Linked DNA regions of Homo sapiens: region 1 is linked to region 2. Evidence: promoter capture Hi-C in human tissues and cell types (Jung and others, 2019). All regions are on one chromosome and are shown on one strand. Each heading gives the region's core, a stretch centred on a gene start or on the middle of the fragment in contact. The rest is flanking DNA. Distances are from core to core; before and after follow the strand shown.

The links. Contacts are between HindIII fragments. The study calls those that stand out against the background at their distance.
Region 1: a contact is called between a fragment that was not itself captured here and the fragment with the promoter of TBC1D21 in region 2, in 2 of the 25 tissues and cell types used here (mesenchymal stem cells and mesendoderm cells).

The regions. Positions count from the first base shown.
Region 1 is chr15:73,686,959-73,692,971 of GRCh38, reverse strand. The region is part of intron 1 of CD276 (CD276 molecule); the gene reads right to left. Among named protein-coding and RNA genes, the nearest start is that of CD276, 5.6 kb to the right of the region's middle. The HindIII fragment of the contact is 5,586 bases long and covers 1,826-6,013 here.
Region 2 is chr15:73,870,361-73,875,794 of GRCh38, reverse strand. TBC1D21 (TBC1 domain family member 21) reads right to left here and starts at 2,231. Exons shown (of 11, transcript NM_153356.3): 1 at 2,026-2,231. The coding sequence starts at 2,085. LOC102723657 (a long non-coding RNA gene) reads left to right here and starts at 2,260. Exons shown (of 6, transcript XR_932455.3): 1 at 2,260-2,500; 2 at 3,692-3,852; 3 at 4,679-5,043; 4 at 5,183-5,318. The HindIII fragment of the contact is 7,159 bases long and covers 1-5,434 here.

The sequences.
Region 1 (6,013 bases), core at 3,369-5,868, 190 kb after region 2:
GAAGTGCATTTTCAAAACCCCAGTGAAGCCATGCAAGTGCCTACTAGTGGGCTCTTCTTCAAGTGCTCATTGGTTCCAGGACTTTGTCAAGGATTAAGAACAAGATTATCGATCTGTTGTTCCCATAATCTACCATCTTCCCCATAAAACTGGTTATTTCCCTGTCTCAAGTCTTCTGGCATTTGTTCATTTATTCATTCAACAAATGCTTATTCATGATCCACATGCCAGGCATTGGCCATGCATGCAATATGAATGGAGATGAAGAATCGTACATATAAATATTCAACTACAGGGGTTCTCATTCTCAAGTTGGGAGGTATGTTTATTATTATGCTTCAAAAGTTACCCATGTTATATATATTATTTTGCTTTTATCAAATAATAATAACATAGGCCAGTTTTGTTGAAAGCCATGCACCAGGCTCTGTTCTAAATGCTTTTACACATATTAACTCATTTAAGCTTCCCAACAATTCTGTGAAGTAGGTACTATTATTATCCTATTTCACCGAGGAGTAAATTCAGGGATGGAGAGATTTAATAACTTGCTCAAGATTACAGAGCTGCTAAATGGCATATTTAAAATCCCACATTTTCATATTAAAAATAGAAAAAAGGTTTAGGAAACAAATATATCATTAAAATAGAATATGACCAGTTTTTTGGTACACATTTATACAAGGTATTGTGGGAATGGACGAGGCAGTAGGCTTAAACCTGGATGAAAGGGTCAAGCCATTCACTGGGGGCTGGGGAGGCTCAGTAAGGACTGCACAGAGGAGGAGACATCTCGGCTATCTGGCGGAGGGGACAGCATGAAAAGTCACAGAAGAGGAGATGTCCACAGCATATTCTGGGAAGATGGGACTCCAGGAGAGGCTGAGACTCAGGAGAGGAGGCAAGGGAGGTAGTGAGGGACGTAGATGGGGACTCGGATTGAATCTGTGCACAGCAGGAAACTGTGGAATACTGTGACCCACGTGTCCAACCCTCTTCTACCCTAGACTGGCCTGAAATATCCCTGACAGCTTCTCAGAGATTCTGTCTCCAAGTTCACCCCACACCAGGACAGGCAATCCCAGGGGCCAGAAGACAAATACAGTTAAAACAGATGAGCACCTCCCCGTATGGCCTAAACTTCAATTCCTTCTTAACATCTTCTGCTCCTTCTTTCCTTGACAAAGAGGCAAATTCAATGCCGAGCAGATCGTCTCCGTCTTTGGTAGCTAGTCTTAACACAGTTATTTTGCTCCATGTCCTTTATTCTACAGTGCCCTTCTCTTGGTCTATGCTGGCCCCTTCTGGTAGCAAGGCTCCGCACTCCTGCAGGGAGCCCAGTCCATGCTGTACTGGTGGAGCTGTCCTCCCAGCCTAGGGCCTGGGCATGTTACAAGACCTGGCTCATGGAGAAACCTGCCCTGCCCCCACTCAGTGATTAGTTCGAGAATGAGCTGTAAGCCAAGCCACACCCAATCAGAGACTTCCCCAGAGCCTTGCTGCTGCAGCCATCAAAAAAGACTCTTTCTTGTTGAGATTACTAAGAAGGATACGGTCTGGGACTGTTAGCAATAAATGTGTCTGCTACCAACAATCTAAAGAATTGATCCAAACAAATGAACAGAGGCAGAGATGGAAGCTAGAAGGATATAGAGCCCTAAAACCATCATTTAAGCCCCTATTCCTGAAGCAAGCTGCACACATAGACTGCCTAGGTACTTAAACAAGTCTTTTTTTTTTTTCTTAAATGTGCTTGAGCTAGTTTTCTATTATCTGTAACTGAAGGACTCCTCAAATATGTCTGCTATATCTTCACTATCTCCATTTCTCTCTACCCCTGCTTCTCTTCCTGGTCTTCCAAGTCACCATCATCTCTTGCCTGGATAACTATAAAAGCCTCTTCACCAGTCTGTTCACCTTCTCTAGTTCCCCCACCCAATTCTGTTCTCCAATCTATACTCTATACAACAGCCAGAATAATTGCTATTAATATAAAAGCATAAATTATATCACTGCCTTCAATAGTTAATCATAGGGCTGTTCACTTTCCTTGTGATAAGATCGCAGCTCCTCCATAGCCTACAGAGCCCCATCTGCCCTGGCCCTGCCCACCTGCCCAGCCTCACCTCTTCCTACTTGCCCCTCACCACAGTGGGCTGCTTCCAGTTCCTACAACATAGGACTCCCTTTCCTACCTCACAGTGTTGCTGCAAATACAGTTTCTTCTTCCTAGATGACATGGGTGCTTTAAGACTCATGTTGAAATTTAATTGCCACTGTAACAGTATTAAGAGGTGGGGCCTGTAAGAAGTGAAGAGATTAATGCTGTTATCACAGGAAAAGTGGGCTCCTGATAAAAGCGTAAGTGCTGCCCCCATACTGTCTGTACTGCACGCTCACATGCCCTTCCACAATAGGATAATGCAGCAAGAAGGCCCTCGCCAGATGCCAGCACCATGCCCTTGGACTTCCCAGTCTCCAGAACTACAAGCCAAATAACCTTTTTTTCTTTATATATTACCCAGGCTGTGGTATTCTGTTATAGCAGTAAAACATGGACTAAGATAAAAGGTAACACCTCCATATTCTGAGGGTCACCTTGACAGAAAAGCCAGGTAAGAGATCTGCCACTCTAAGAAGGACCCTGTCATTCATTGCACCCAGTCTGTTTTCTTCATGATATATGAGAACCTCCCTGAGAAGGAACCACATCTGCTTTATTTAACTATTGCATCCTTAATTCTAGCAATGGCTTGGCACATAATGGGTTCTCAATGCACGATTCAATGAGTGAACGAATGAATGCATGTGTGTTTAGATAGAGAGATGGATAGATATATGGATGGATGGATGTTTGTATATGGGGAAAGGATCTGGATGCCTGAGAGTGAATGCAACTCTGGAGTGTCAGAATAAGGGTGAGAGTTTGCTACTGTTTTCTACTTGATACACTTCTCTGTTTTTAACTATGAACATGTAAATTCTTTTGCAATTAACGAAAAAAGGAAAACAGCAACAACAGAGATATCCTGGACTTTAGACCAGGCTCTGTCACTCACTTGCCAGGCTCCCTAGGCCAAACCCCTTGCCTTTCTGGGTCTTCATCTCCTCAACCATCAAAGGGTCCTGACCACCATCCCATGCTGTGACCATATCGCATGTTGGGCTGGTGTAATCACAAGAAGCTTCATGGAAGAAGTTAGCACTAGTGTTTAAGAAGATGACTTTGGAGTTGGAGAGACAGGTTCAAATCCAGACTCTGTCACTTCCTAGTAATGAAACTTTATGAAAATATCCTCTCTGAGCCTCAGTTTGCTCATTTGTAAAATGGGGATTATAAACCTTACCCTCATAGGATGATTATAGGACTCAATGAGCAAAATTATCAAAACTGACCTAGTTAATACTAGGTGCTCTATAAATGGGCAGCAGCCTCAGAAAAGAGATGGGAGGGTCCCTAGAGTTCCCTGGGAACAGCCTCCCTGTTTGCCTTCCTTTTTCCTGATAATCTGAGTCAGTTTGGGCCTTTTATGTTCAAGGCTGTCCACTGGGCACCACTCCCCAGTCCCGTGATCCCACCCAAGAGCAGGAATCAGTTCTTCCTCTCCAAGCGATTTCTGTGTGAGTCAGGACAGTAGTATGTCATCAGGGCTGGCCAGCAAAGCAGGGCTAAGGTCTCCCTGGAACTAGAGGCATGTGCAGGGGCTGCAAAACTGACCTATACATGCATGTGGAAATGTGTACACACACACACACACACACACACACACACACACACACACAGGAGGCACAGAGCCCTGAAAAAAGTGAAAGCTACATTGGGCCCAGAGGAGGTCCAGCCAAAAGAAGGGATGGCAACAAGGAGAATAGGGAGAGGAAGGAAAGGGATGAGAGCACATGAGACCACATCAGAGCGCAGATTTCGGGTCAGACACTGGCAGGCCCAGGGCACACACATCTGCATTCACTCAATATCTGCTGAGTCCTGCTAGGTGCCCACCTAAACATATCTGGAAATCCTATCCTTTCCAGAAGCCTTTCCAGACTGCACTCAAGGAAGGGTGCATTTTCTCCAGATGTGATCTGCCTAAATGCCTCCTTGCCTCCAAATTCCTTTGGTTTCTACCCTGAAAGAGGCTCAGCTTAGCAGAACAACTCTGCCGACCCCTCTCCATCTAAGCACCAGACCCCTCTCGGAGTGTAGCAATCTCCACCAGTCCTCAGAGCTAGAAGGCCTCTTACGGTACACCTGGTCCAGCGCCTAGCTCCAGGCCCATTGTACAGATGGAAATCTGGACCCAGAGTGGTGGCCGGCTGGCCAAGGGCCCACACTCAATTATCAGCCACCAGCAGAAGTGACTAAGAGCCAGCTGATGCTCCTATCTCTCTTCCTCACTTATTGAATGGAATCACCAGGCTGCCTTGCCTGCCCAGGGTACAGCATGAGCTCAGAAGCCAGCAGCCTTGGGTTTCAATCCTGACACCGATGCCTTGCTGAACACATGACCAAGTTTAAATGACTTAACCTATTTGAGACCCAATTCCAAATCTCTAAAATGGGGGTAACAATCCCTACCCCACAGGGCTGCTGTGAGAATAAAATAAGACAATAGAGAGAGAGGACTTAGGAAAGTGCCCAGTACCAAAACTGCAGTAATAATTATTATTATTGCTGTTATTATTGCCGCAAGCATGGGGACAAGGCCTCCTAGATGGGGCCTCTGCACTGAGCGAACACTTTGCCCCTACCCCACTCTCCCTGGCCAAGACCTCCTCTGTCAGGCCACACATCTGGGCCTCTGGGACCATTACTCCTTCTGTATCCCTACTTTTCACCTAGAGCCCTATCAGTGCCCCAGCTCCAAAGTAGCAAATGCACAACTCGACTCCATCTCTGGCTCTGACTCATTCTAGTGGTCCTGGGCCCCTTCCTCTTCGCAGATGCTTGGTCACAGTTCCAAGTACCATGAGCTCCTACCGTCCTGCTGCCATAGCCCCTAGCACAGAGCATTCCCACAGGGACACATTCCAATGTCTCCCACAAGGCAGCCCCAGTTCCTAGGAGCCTGCATTGCCTCTAGGGTAACTTGGGACCCCTGCCTCCCAGAGACAGTATCTCTCCCTGCTCCAAGGCTCCCAGCAAGAAATGCTTCTCACTCCACTTCCCGCAGATTAAGCTCCCTATGCCTAGAGAAGGTCAGATTCCCAATGGCATAAGGTGTGTGGAGCAGGCATTCATTCTCTGGACCACAAAGAGAAAGAAAGGGAGAAAGGGGGCAGCTGGCTGGGAGCACTGGTCAGAACTGGAGGGTGGAGGGGGAACTCCTGGAAGCCCCAGCATGATAAAGTCCAGGGCTCTGGAAGAGAAGAACTCTCAGCAAAGGCCCTGACTATGCTGTGAAGGCCACTAGTCACTGGGTCACCCAGGTCAGGCCTGCCCCTTCTCTGGTTCCCCAGATGAGTCTTCCCTGACTTACTAAGGAGACCCTTGGCACATCTTACCGGGCTCCAGAAAGAGGGGTAAAACCTGTGCCTACCTCCAGAGCAGCAGAAAAAGCCAGTTCTGGAAGCAGACAACAGCCCAGCTCCACCATTTGCCGGCTGTGTGTCTTTGGGCATGTGACTTACCCTTTCTGGGCCTCAGTTTCCCCAACTGTACAATGGTGTTAATGATACCCTACCTCATAGGATTACTATGAGGATTACATGAGATAATGTCTATTTAGCCTCCAGCACAACCCTACCCACTCCCAAACCTGAAAACCCAATGCTCCTATCTGGCACACTGCAAGGGCGGTAGAACTGGGGGTGGCAGGCAAGGGTTGCATAACTGTACACGTGGCCCCCTTCCAGGTGTGGGGTCCATTCTGAGCCAACAAGACCAAAGGCAATTTCTCAAAAATCATGTGGACCAGTCCTCACCCCTCTCCCCCTCCCCTAGGCCCTGGGTGTGCCCTCCCCCTTTTGCTGGTGGACTTCCCTAACACTCCTGCCCTGGGGATGTGGGAAAAGG
Region 2 (5,434 bases), core at 982-3,481:
GTCTGCAGTTTGCGAGGGGGCTGGATACCCTCCAGCTCTGCAGTGGTGCCTTTCCTAGTGTCCTGGGAAGCGTACTGCTAGATAGAGCAGCTATGGAAATCTCCCACCTTCAGGGTGTATCTAGGCAGGTTAAAGTTCTACATCAGCAAACCTGAGGAAGCCTTGGCCATTCTTCCCCTGGGGAAGGGGACCAGAAGTGGGAGCCCTAAGTGGCTCAGTCCCTCTAAAAGTTTCCTGCTGCTAGAGGCCTTGGCTTCAGGCATAAATCTCCTCTCCCCACTGCATCATTGGGTTAGGGGTTTTCTCCCATATTTTCAGTAAAAAAAGAAAGCCTTTGGAGGACAAGAAAAACTTTTTATGAGGGTTTTAATGCCAAGTTTCTCTGAATACTCATAGCCACAGAACCTCCAATAAAGCCCAGGGAAGGTCATTGACTTTGCTTAAGCTTCCCTCCCTCCCTCCCTCCCTCCCTTCCTTCCTTCCCTTCTTCCCTCCTTCCCTCCTTCCTTCCTTCTTTCTTCTTCTTCTTCTTCTTTTTTTTTTTTTTTGATGGAGTCTCACTCTGTCGCCCAGGCTGGAGTGCAGTGGCGCAATCTCAGCTCACTGCAACCTCCACCTCCCTGGTTCAAGTGATTCTCCTGCCTCAGTCTCTTAAGTAGCTGGGATTACAGGGACTCACTACCACGCCTGGCTAATTTTTTGTATTTTTTAGTAGAGACAGGGTTTTGCCATATTGGCCAGGCTGGTCTTGAACTCGCGACCTCAGGTGATCTGCCCGCTTCGGCCTCCCAAAGTGCTGGGATTACAGGCGTGAGCCACTGCACCTGGACAGGTTCTCTTTTCTACTCCAGTTCACCTGAGGACAAGATAGACTCCCAACCGTAACAAGGGGTTCCCACTTCAGCAATTATTACCAACCCAGGTGTGGAGGGTGTATCATCAGTACAGCACCGTGATGAAGAAAATGGTTTAAAACAGTGGTTCACAAAGCTAATTGTGCATCACAGTGCCCTGGAGGGATGAGTTACAAAAAACACAGATCTCTGGGCTTCGTCTCCAGTTTATTGGTTCAGAAGATCTGGGGCCCAAGAGTCTGCATTCTTACAAGTTCCCAGTTGGTGCTAATGCTGCAGGTTTGGATGCCACACTTTGAGAATACTGAGTTTTGCACCCCACCTGTCTGGGTCGAAATACAACTTCTGCCACTTAACAAGCTGTGTGACTGTAGGCAAGTGACAAAGTCTCTGTGGCTCCATGTTCTCATTTATAAAAGGAAGACAACAGCATTATTCACTTCATAGAGTTGTGATGAGAATGAATGACTATAAATAAAGCATTTAGAACATTCATCGTACATAATAAATGCTATGTGACAGTTTATTTTATTAGCCTTCTCTAAGCTCAGAGAAATGAGAAAGATATAAAGAAAATTTAAAGCAAGGCCTGGTGATAATTTGCCATAAAGCAGTAACATTTAAAACTCAGGGAGAGGAGTGTCCATTTTGCATTTTTATGTATCACTCTCTTAATCACTATGATTAATGAGACTTAAGATTGGCTAAAGTTATTGTAATTAGTTATGATTTTGAAAAAATACCGTGTGGAAAATTTTTATGACTGAAGCCGACTTCTAACAAATAGCTGTATCTTGTAAACTGGGTTTAGAACTACCTACTAACAAAAGCATTACTGCCACCTGGTGGCAGTATACCAAAATTGTTGGCAAAAAGCACCGATGAAAATCTATCAGCATCTTCAGGTTCGCACCTGCAAACCTACAACTCAATAAAGTTAGAATAGCACATATGTGGAGAAGGTTTTGCTGGCTTGGAAAGAAGGTGAAAGGGGGCTTGGATGTCTCAGTCCTGTCCTTGGGCTGATGGTAAGAGTAAGGTACAACCGCCCTTGCTCCACCTTCTATGTTAGCTCAGGGTTCTAGCTTTTCCTACCCAGCAGGGGAAAATGGTCCCAGTGCCAACCAGAGGCTGGGGAGGGAGGCACTCAGAGCTGACAAAGAACACGCACCAGGATGAAGGAGGCTGACTGTCTGGCAGAGAGGCTGTTTTCAGGAGAGAGGGTGGTCATGGCCCCTGCTGTCTTCCGAACAGCCTCTGATCAGAACTCACTTGGAGCCCTAGTGATGCTTAATCCTTTTCGGAGATGGGTTGCATTCCCAGGAGGAACTGGCTGCTCCTGACCTCCCACACTTGAACAGAGCCGGCCAGCAGTGTGTCACAAGTCCCCTGGAACTCTCATCACAATGACCTGGAACACGGGAACACCCACCTTTAGAGATGAGACACAAGCAGGAGAAGAGGGATTAAACCTGCTAGTTTTGGAAAAAAAAAAAAAAAGGAAAGAAAAGAAAAGAAAGAAAGAAAAACAAAAAACAACAACAAACAGAAAAATGCAAAACTGCAGAACACGCAGTGGAGGTTGGATTCAGAGGACATGGGGATCAGTGTGGGCTGTGCTGGTCAAGGAGGGCTTCCAGGGAGAGGTGGGCCATGAAGCCTTGCTCTCTATCTCTGACTCTTCCTCTGGACTCTCTTAGCTGGACTCCCTCCCTATTCCACCAGACCAGTGCCCAAAGTTGGAGAATAACTAGAAACCAGGCTTCAGATGTCTTGGGTACCAGTTATAAAGATTCAGAATCAGTATGTCAGTGCTGGGGCCTGGGGGGCTGGGGAATGTGTTTTGATATGCCTCCTGGGGTGACTTAGCTTCAGCATTGGAATGGTAGCTTCTGGGGTGGAGATCAGTTTTGTTTAGCTTTTTATTTGGAGCACTTACGATCGTGCCTGAGTAGCTGAGTTAATGATTTAATTGAATGGGAGAATAAATGAAGCTGTCTTAGACCTCATCTCACTTCCCTCTCTGTATGTATGACAGAGATTTGTGCCTGCCCCATATCACCTCCTACCCTGAGTTCCTTTAGGCCAGGGTCAACATCAGATTCCTCTGTGGTTCCCTCTCCCAATGCCAGTTCTGCCATCACTTGGCACTTGGTAGGTGCTCAATATTTGTTGCATGGACCCAAGGAGTTGGCTCTGCTTGGCTCCAGCATCACTCTTCTCCACCTTAAGCATTGCTTGCACTTCTACTCAGGTCCCATCTGGCTCTAAAGCATCCTTAGTCATTAGGAGATGATAGTAATTCGACCAACCAAATTGGAATCAGGAGCTGGGTGTTGGAATTTGGACTCTGACCTCAAATTTGGATGCTCCCCGCTTCTGAGCTACAGATTCCCCAGACATGAAATCAGAATACAGTCAACCTCTGGCTTTCACCTCCTTATTAACATAATGAATCACTGTCCATATGGAGTCTTCCACGGACACAATTCATTGTCTCATTTACTGTTTCTGTTCTGCTTGCCTGCGGCACTGCAGAAGGCCTTTTAAATCAAAATGCCTTATTATCGGCCTCTCTCCTCTACCCACTACCCTAGCTCAACCTAGGAGAGAGTTAAGAGCCTCTTCCCTTTGATCTACTGCCCCTAGGTCTTCATGGAGTGGGAGGTGGGCAACGTTGAGTAGGGAAGGTGTGGAGTAAGGATGGGGCCCCTTGCACATTAGGGTGGCTTCATTCTAAGGTCTGCAAGAAGTTTCCAAAGCAAATGTTTAGAGCAAGAGACATAGACATCATTTAGGATTATCTATGTCTCTGTTCTTCCACATTAACCACGTAGGCAACTGAGGATTCACTGCAATTGTTCCTTGAGAAGATGAGGATCAGGTCGGGAATTGGAAACATCTGAGGGCTCAATTCAACCTGGCTTCTAAAACGAACATGGTGAACATAGATCAACTACTGAACTTCTTTTAACCTCTGGCATCCTATCTGTGAATTGTAGGTGATAACCCTTCCCCAAATGAGCCAATACAGTTTAGTCATATTACAAAAGCCCCATAGCAACCACATGGAGGCTTAATATTCAAACAGAACTGCAGGACTCTGTAACGGAAGCAAAAAGGGCTTTTATTCCATCCCTCTTTCTTCTTTTTTCAGATTCTGAAAGGGAATTACATGTGTCCATTTTTTTCCAGGGCTGAATGATCCTTACCATGTCCATTTATTTACATAATTGCCCAAGTGCCTTGGTTTCCCATATATTGCTTTTCTGTTATGCATTTTCTCATCTCTGATGGGAATCCAGCTTTCTGCTTTAAACTTCTATACGTGAGGATTCTTCAGGGAAAATATTATTTTAGGTGTTTGCATTAAAGAAGTCCAAGGAGGGAGAAACCCACTCAGTTCATTTTTCTCTGCTGAATCTGGCTGTCCATTAGCTGATGTGGCTGGCATGAGGAGGGAGAGGAGACTTGGAGTGGCCTGGGGAAGACCTCTCATCAATGAGAAAGCTCATAGGCTTTGGTGCCAAAAAGACCCGGTTCAAATCCTGGCTCTGCTGCACACCAATGATATGACCTAGGTTGAGAAAGGCAGTCTCATGCATGTGGTTTTTTAACCTCTGCTCAGCCCCATACAAGTGGCCTTGAGCCAAAAACACTTCCTTACCAACAGATAAGGAGCTCTCATAGCTTGTGCTGGGCTTATCGCCTTACGTGGGAATATCTTTTTCCTGTTTCAGACTCAGCGTGTACTCTTTGTTCTGCTTAAGCTTGTGCGTCATGTGGCAGGCACCTGGCCAACCCCACTGTTATATCTGTTCCAGGTGGGGAGGAAACAGGGTCCACCCGCTGCTGCACAAGAGGGGTGTGTGCAGACCGTCACCTTGTGTCTGCTGTAGCAGGAGACCCCTGGCCATGCGGGACTGAACCCATGATTGCAGCTGATCTTACTCTGTCTCTTCTCTGTGTGAGTAAAGTGTTGTTCCATCTAGTGCCTGTGTGAGTCGTGTCTTTCGTGGCGACACCTATAAACCATGGAGTGGGCTGACATCCTGGTTCTGCTGCTCCTGGTGGCGGGCATTGTTGTGCTGTTTGCCGTCCTCTACACAGTGCGAATCTTCTCTACCCTGCCCGAGTCTCGGCATCTCCACATGTGCCATGAGGATGGTAATGCTTTACAGAACTGAAGGTAATTGAAGCATGGCCCTGGAGCGCAGGAGGCACCCAATGTGTGGTAGTTATTATTATCTTCAGCATCGCCAGTATTATTACTAATGCCTAGGACTTGTCCACAAAAATCACTATGAAAATTTACTTCTGTGAACTAGACTCACATCAAAATGCTGCCTGCTTCCATGAGGCTTGTAGTGACATCCATGTACAAGTTCAAAGACCCTCTGAGCCAATTTCCACTTCTCTGCATGTCTCTGGGGACCTAGGGGACCAGGATTACTATAAAAGCAGGTAAGGCCAGTATTAAAAAGCAGGTTCACTCCAGTTCCCTTCATGTCAATGCAACAAGACACAACTTTGTGAAATGCCATGCAACTGTATCCCTGTTAACAAGTATCAACCCCTTC